Regions from separate parts of the Homo sapiens genome. Here region 1 is linked to region 2. Evidence: promoter capture Hi-C in 16 types of primary human blood cells and fetal thymus (Javierre and others, 2016). All regions are on one chromosome and are shown on one strand. Each heading gives the region's core, a stretch centred on a gene start or on the middle of the fragment in contact. The rest is flanking DNA. Distances are from core to core; before and after follow the strand shown. Region 1 overlaps KATNBL1 (katanin regulatory subunit B1 like 1). Region 2 holds the start of EMC7 (ER membrane protein complex subunit 7).

Region 1 (4,094 bases), core at 218-2,717, 94 kb after region 2:
ATCCCATTAAAAAACAGGGTAAGAACACAAATAGACATTCTTCAAAAGAAGACAAATGGCCAAGAAGCATGTGAACAAATGTTCAATATCACTAATCACAGAAATGCAAATTACAACTACAATGAAATATCATCTTACACCAATCAGAATGGCTATTATTAAAAAGACAAAAAGTAACAGATAACAAGGGTGTGGAGAAAACAAACTCATATACTATTTGTGGGAATGTAAATTAGTACAACCTCTATGGAAAACAGCACAGAGATTTCTCAAAGAACTAAAAACGGAACCACTATATGATCCAGCAATCCCACTACTGGGTATCTACCCAAAGGAAAATAAATCATTATATCCAAAAGACACCTGCACTCATATGTTTATTGCAGCACCAATTTATAATAGGAAAGATATGGAATCAACCCGTGTCTTATCAACAGAGGACTGGATAAAGAAAATGTGGTACATATACAATATGGGATACTATTCAGCCTTAAAAAAGAATGAAATAATGTCTTTTGTAGCAACATAGATGGAACTGGAGGCCATTATCTCAAGTAAAACAACTCAGACACAAAGACAAATACTGCATGTCCTCACTTATAGTAATGTGTACATATGAAAGCAGTGTGGAATAATAGAGAATGGAGACTCAGAGAGGTAGGGGTGGGAGAAAGGTGGATGATGAAAGCTTGCTTGATGGGTAAAATGCGTGTTGCTCTAATGATCCATGTACTGAACCTCCTGACTTCACCACATGCAATATATCAATGTAGCAAAATTGCACTTGTATCCTATAATCCCAGATACTCAGGACGCTGAGGCAGGAGAACTGCTTGAACCTGGGAGGTGGAGGTTGCAGTGAGCCGAGATCCCATGACTGCACTCCAGCCTGGGCAACAGAGAGAGACGCCATCTCAAAAAAAAAAAAAACCCAAAAAACAAACAAACAAAAAACCCACAAATAATTTTTTTAATTGTAACTGTCAAATGACTATGTATTGGGAATTCTGCAAACCACACTGCATTCCTCAAAAGCAATTCTATTTTGTGGAATATACAAAATAGTTATGGCGACATGGAAATTGATGATAAATGCAAATAAATTTAGGGTCCTAAAAGTAACTTTGTGATTTATGAACATTTGATTTATAAATCTTTACCTTACTTGCTATATGAGAAATCAATGTGTGTCTGATTTTTTAAACTACGTGTGCATGCTTATCTAAAATGTGTCTCAAAATAATAAAAACTGGAAAGGGGTAAGCACATTCTGGCTTCAGAGAAAAAATAAAATAAAAAGATTCATTAAAAAAAGATGTTACACATGTATCTTAAACATTTCAATTTAAAATCTAAAAATCAGCCAGGCGTGGTGGCTCACACCTGTAATCCCAGCACTTTGGGAGGCCAAGTGGGATGGATCACCTGAGGTCAGGAATTCAAGACCAGCCTGGCCAACATGGTGAAACCCCATCTCTACTAAAAATACAAAAATTAGCCACGCATGGTGGCGCCTGCCTGTAATCCCAGCTGCTTGGGAGGCTGAGGCAGGAGAATCGCGTGAACCCGGGAGGTGGAGGCTGCAGTGAGTCGAGACTGCATGACTGCACTCCAGCCTGGGCAACAGAGCGAGACTTTGTCTCAAAAATAAAATAAAATAATTTTTAAATGACTGGGCGCGGTGCCTCATGCCTGTCAATCCCAGCACTTTAGGAGGCCAAGGTGGGTGGATCACTTGAGGTCAGGAGTTCAAGACCAACCTAGCCAACATGGCGAAACCCAGTCTCTATTAAAAATACGAAAACCTGCCAGGCGTGGCGGCAGGCACCTGTAATCCCAGCTACTCGGGAGGCTGATGCAGGAGAATCACTTGAACCCAGGAAGCAGAGGCTGCAGTGAGCTGAGATTGCACCACTGCACTCCACCCTGGGTAACAAAACCAGACTCCGTCTCAAAAAGAAAGAAAGAAAGAAAGAAATCTAAACATAATGTATGATGCATCATCTATAATTTATAGTTTGGGCTTAAAGTGGCTCAAGAACTTGATACATTATCAGTACAAAATCCTAAACTGTTACAGTTTTACTTCATTTATGTTTAGCTTTCTAATCTACACCTTATTTGATATACAGTTTTTCAGGCATTTGCCTTTGTCCAGACTACCCAAAGCATTACAATTAATTTCATGGAAACAATATATTTTAAATTCCTATTTCCAATTGCTGTCTTCACTAAATTGGGAACTAAGAAGCTTGGCAAATGTGGCAGAGATAGACTGCTGCTCTCTACAAAGGTTTTTCCAACTTAGACTCCTGCTACTAGAGGTGGAGAACAACCACTATTTGCATCCATGATAACACAAGATTCTGTCTTGTCAACGTTTTTACCTTTGAAAATCTGACAAACGATGAACAATGTCATGTTTTAGTTTGCTTTTGAAAAATTTAATGTGAAGTTGTATTTTTCTTACGTTTAAACTGAAAAGACTAGGCAGTATGGTGTGACAGAGAAATATAAGTCCTAGAGTCAGACTACCTGGGTTTAAGTCCTGTTTTAACCATTTATTAGTTATGTACCATCTTAGGCAAGTTACCTAATCTCCTATTTTCAGAATAATGCTGTGAGGATTAAATAATCCACTTACCACAATGTCTGTAAATCACTCCGTAAATGTTAGCTATTATCAAGTTATACACAAACATCACCTATGAGGCAAGTTGCCTTTGGTGTAAGAAACATGATTCGTGGTATTAGCAAACTTTAATATCAGTTCCTAAATTTGTTGTATGTTTCTATATGTGCATATGTAGCACAGAGAAAAGAATGAAAGGATAAGGGTTATTTCTAAATAGTGGTATTACATTCCTTTTTTCTGTTTATTTTTCTATGAGATTAAGATTGAATCGTTGTCTTTGGCTTATTTTTATCAATTTTTACCAGTAAAAAATATTACCTTTTAAATAAAAGAATGAGGTTTATTTTATTTTTTTTGAGACGGAGTCTCGCTCTGTTGCCCAGGCTGGAGTGCAGTGGCATGATCTCGGCTTACTGCAACCTCTGCCTCCCAGGTTCAAGAGAGTCTCCTGCCTCAGCCTCCCTAGTAGCTGGGATTACAGGCACACGCCACCACACCCACCTAATTTTTTTATTTTTAGTAGAGACAGGGTTTCACCATGTTAGCCAGGCTGGTCTCAAACTCCTGACCTCAGGTAATCCATTCGCTGCCTCGGCCTCCCACACAAAGTGCTGGGATTATAAGTGTGAGCCACCGCACCCAGCCGAGTTTCTTTTCTTGACACAAAAAGAGGACGATACGCTAATAGGAACTGATAAATTAAAGCTTCTTAAGCCTTGCAACATACAAATTCTTATGTAAAGGAATATGAAATAATTGTAAAATTATGAAATTCAGTGACCTAAACCATTCTAAGGTAGAATTTTTGGTGGTATATACAGCTACATCATAGCATGTAATACTTTCCTACCTAACTCCTGTTCAGATCCTTAAACTTCCCAATCTTTCCTGCTGTGAAATTCTCACCATCATCCCATAGTTTCTAGTGGGAGAAATAGACAAACAAGCAATTATAATACAATATGTCAAGCACTGAGATATCCCTGAGGATTTATCTAAGAGCTTAGGGAAAACAAACAAAAACTGCTCTTGGAGTTAAACTATGAAACAGTAGATAGTGGTTTAAAGCAAAGATATTTAGAGTCATTTTACAGAAAGTAACAGCTTCTAGTCCAGCAGGACTTGCTGAGTAATCTCAATGAATGTTTCTCTACATTTTAATCAATGTGTAAAATTTATTTCCATAACTAATACAAAAGTGTTCCAAAAAAATACTTTGCGCTAACAGTGTATAGCAGGTGGAACTTATCACAAAGAACAACAACAAAAAACCCATAGTTTAATGTTAAACCAGATTCAAAGAAAGATCACACAGTTCCATAAATGTGACATTCCTTTTTTAGGTGTATTTGGTCAAGAACTGGGAAGAGGGACTGGCAAGGGAAGCAAAGACTTGTAGTCAAAAAGTAACAAGGTAAATGGAATGTTAAACTGTACTTTTTATAAAATATGAGAAACT
Region 2 (4,097 bases), core at 1,276-3,775:
AAAACACATGAAAACCACCTGTCCAAAAACAGAGGACTGGTTAAATAAATTATGGCTTATATACATTGTGATGATAGCAAGAAATGGCATGAGGAGTCTTCAGGCCCAATTCCCTTTATCTCCATTAACTAAGTCCTAAGCCACCTCCAATAAGCACAAATGTAAGTCAAAACTGTGTGCTAGTTATGCAAAACAGCTACAATACAAATTACCTACCCCTTTTCCAATAAGATTATCACCATAAACTCCTCATATTAATTCTCCATCAATGTTTCTTTTTTTCCTGAGAGACGGGGTTTTGCTCTGTAGCCCAGGCTGGAACGCAATGGCATGATCACAGCTCACTACAGCCTCAACCGCCTCGGCTCAAGTGATCCTCCCACCTCAGCCTCCTGAGTAGCTTGGACTACAGGTGCACACCACCACTCCTGGCTAATTATTTATTTTTTGTAGAAATGGGGTCCCACTATGTTGCCCCAGCTGGTCTGAAACTCCTGGGCTCAAGCGATCCTTCCACCTCAGCCTCCCAAAGTAAGATTACAGGTATGAGCCACCGCGCCTGGAAATTCTCCATCAACCTTTCTACATACAAATAAAGAACATGAAATGGTATCAAAAGCTGTTCAAAAATATTAAGTGAAAAAGGCAGGATACAAACTACTACATGTTGTATTTTACTAGTAAAAACCTAAGTCATATGATTCCAAAAGAAGCTGGAAAAATGGTAGGCACCGTGGCTCACGCCTATAATCCCAAAAATGTGACAGGCTGAGGCAGAAATATCACTTGAGGCCAGGAGTTTGAGACCACACTGGGCAACATAGCAAGACCCTGTCTCTACAAAAAATTAAAAAATTAGCTGGACATGATGGTGTCCGCCTGTAGTCCTATCTACTGAGGAGGCTGAGACAGGAGGATCACTTGAGTACAGAAGTTCGAAGCTGCCATGAACTATGATCTCGCCACTGCACTCCAGGCTGAGTAACAGAAAAAGACCTTGTCTCAAAAAAATAAAAAGAAAGATACAATGAAACATTAAGGGTTGTTTTCCTACTTTGTTTCTAATATACTATTTTTAAACAGAAATTAAATGCTTTTTAAAAGAACTGTATACAGAAGAGTGGCCAAATGGTCAATTAAGGCTTATTCCTAAAGCTTAATGAGAACTTTATCATTAAAACATCATTAATTAGGGTAAACTCTAACGAATGCCCTAATGCCAGATTCTTAATGACAGACAGCAGTAAAATACTGGTTGTAAATTTGTCACTATTTATTAATCTGAGGTTGAATAACCACTCAAGGGCACTTAGATGATCTGAACAAATATGTAAATCAGATTTGGATTTAAATGTCTACATTTAAGTTGTCTGATTTTCAGATACCATTTGCTGGTGTACGAACCCACCAAAGGAAATACTTCCTAATTATTTGCTTTCAGTTTACAGTTTCACCTCCAAGTAAGGGTGGAAAGATTTAAAACAACATACGCGTGCCTAGACATTTCAAAAGCAGGCTGCTGCAAAACTAGTGCTAACAAATTCATCCTGTCTTTTAATATAGACAGAAAACCCACTTCCACTAATAGCATGAAAGGACAGAAGCAAGAAAGCAATGTAGAGGAACCCTAGTCTCACATAAATGACAAGTGTGATATAGCAAATCTCTCGATGAATTCAACTGTAAAAAAGAACAACGATCCCACCCCCAAGCAAAAAAAAAAAGAAAAAAAAAGTGCTTTGATTAGGGATTTCAGAGCCTATTAATTTTAGAAGCAGTAACATTAGCCTCCCAGTCTATGTCGTCACTAGAAGCCCTTTGGGTTTTGAGAATTCCCACTTGTGTCGCATCTTTCTACATAATAACAAGCTACCAAAAGACTGAAGTGAATGCAAAAAACGACTAGGTTCTAGGGAAACCAGATGAGATATAAAAGAATCCAACAAGAGACTAATAAGGGTCCACCTGTCCCCAGGGCCCAGGAATGATCGTCCCCACATGGGGCCAAAATAAGGTTGGAAATAACTGACTCCATGCTCTGACCATGGCAGGGGGTGAGCGCCTGCCATGCTCATTCCAGAGGTACAGGACCAGGAAAGGGAAAGCATCCGACTGCCTCCCAAGGTCTCCCGGCATAGACCGTTAGCGGCACCCTCCCCTTCAGTCTGAGACAGCGACGTTGTCCCGTCCTGACACTTAACTCTCCTGGTGGGGTCCCTGTCCGGCCTCCATCCCAGCCTTTTTCCCGCTGCCCTCAGGATGCTCACTTAAGGAAACCGACGTGCTCTTCTCCGTCTACCAGCACTCGGGCCGCCGAGATCCAGTCCTGAGGCTTCACCCCTGGAACAACTGCACGCCCCTCAATCTTGAAGCGATCTCCTATGCCGACCCCACTCCCTCCCGATCCCTCAGCAGCAGCCCCGGGCACCTCCGAGCTCTGGACATCCCCCGATAGCAGCAGCAGCAGCAGGACGGGAAAGAAGCCCCACAGAGCGGCCGCCATGACAGCAGCTCTGCACTCAGACCGGCAGCCCCGGAAGCCCTCCCAGTCTCCCGGCCGCCACCGCCGCCGCTGGCGGCTTGATGTTGTCATCACTGCGCGCCCGTTTCTGTCATAAGCTGTGGGATCCAACCAGAGGGAAGAGATCATGGCCGATCGACTAGCGAGGCGGAAGTAAGGCGGAAGTACTGCCCTTAACTCCCGGCACTCTGGATTGGAAGACGGCGCACAGAGCCTGTGTCAAGTGCCTATGAAGGGGACTGCCCATGAAGTGAAAGTCAAGTGTGTGTTGCTGCGGCAGCCACGGAGGCCAAGGACCTCACGGGAGTAAAAGATGACGAGACTGGCTTCGGGAGAAACACCATCCAGAAGAGACCTTTCAAAAAACTTCTAGAGACTCCCCAAGACGTATGAGATGAAAGGCTTCTTCTGTCTGTGTGCGTTTAACTCATTTCTCCTTAGCCCCGAGATTACGCGCTGCTGTGCCTGCGACTGCAGCGTTTACGCCGAGATAACTCGTGGATTACAGTGCCAACCTTACTCCCAAAGTTTGCCACGAAATATCTCGCTTCTGTTATTTTCGCATGGTTCTGGTATATTGACTTTTGAAACAAAAGACATCATTCTGTTTATAGCATTCTGTTTTTAGTAGTGGGATTTCCATCTACAAAATATAGTAATTCTCGATCGCTGAAATGTCAAATCCTAGAAAACGTAGCATTCCTATGCGTGATAGTAATACCGGTCTCGAACAGTTGTTGGCTGAAGATTCATTTGATGAATCTGATTTTTCGGAAATAGATGATTCTGATAATTTTTCGGATAGTGCTTTAGAAGCCGATAAGATCAGGCCTCTGTCCCATTTAGAATCTGATGGAAAGAGCTCTACATCAAGTGACTCAGGGCGCTCCATGAAATGGTCAGCTCGTGCTATGATTCCACGTCAAAGGTATGACTTTACCGGCACACCTGGCAGAAAAGTCGATGTCAGTGATATCACTGACCCATTGCAGTATTTTGAACTGTTCTTTACTGAGGAATTAGTTTCAAAAATTACTAGAGAAACAAATGCCCAAGCTGCCTTGTTGGCTTCAAAGCCACCGGGTCCGAAAGGATTTTCGCGAATGGATAAATGGAAAGACACTGACAATGACGAGCTCAAAGTCTTTTTTGCAGTAATGTTACTGCAAGGTATTGTGCAGAAACCTGAGCTGGAGATGTTTTGGTCAACAAGGCCTCTTTTGGATACACCTTATCTCAGGCAAATTATGACTGGTGAAAGATTTTTACTTTTGTTTCGGTGCCTGCATTTTGTCAACAATTCTTCTATATCTGCTGGTCAATCAAAGGCCCAGATTTCATTGCAGAAGATCAAACCTGTGTTCGACTTTCTTGTAAATAAATTTTCCACTGTATATACTCCAAACAGAAACATTGCAGTTGATGAATCACTGATGCTGTTCAAGGGGCCATTAGCTATGAAGCAGTACCTCCCGACAAAACGAGTACGATTTGGTCTGAAGCTATATGTACTTTGTGAAAGTCAGTCTGGTTATGTGTGGAATGCGCTTGTTCACACAGGGCCTGGCATGAATTT

Evidence for each region. The method cuts DNA at HindIII sites, captures the fragments that hold promoters and counts their contacts. A CHiCAGO score of 5 or more calls a contact.
Region 1: a fragment that was not itself captured here is called in contact with the fragment with the promoter of EMC7 in region 2 in 9 of 17 cell types (naive B cells, total B cells, activated CD4 T cells and 6 more); the score reaches 7.7 in naive B cells.

The regions. Positions count from the first base shown.
Region 1 is chr15:34,194,775-34,198,868 of GRCh38, forward strand. All of the region lies in intron 1 of KATNBL1 (katanin regulatory subunit B1 like 1), which reads right to left. Among named protein-coding and RNA genes, the nearest start is that of KATNBL1, 13 kb to the right of the region's middle. The HindIII fragment of the contact is 1,563 bases long and covers 687-2,249 here.
Region 2 is chr15:34,099,337-34,103,433 of GRCh38, forward strand. EMC7 (ER membrane protein complex subunit 7) reads right to left here and starts at 2,526. Exons shown (of 5, transcript NM_020154.3): 1 at 2,268-2,526. The coding sequence starts at 2,503. PGBD4 (piggyBac transposable element derived 4) reads left to right here and starts at 2,747. Exons shown (of 1, transcript NM_152595.5): 1 at 2,747-4,097. The coding sequence starts at 3,196. RefSeq lists enhancers at 1,670-2,527, 2,137-2,836, 2,867-2,956. The HindIII fragment of the contact is 6,792 bases long and covers 1,154-4,097 here.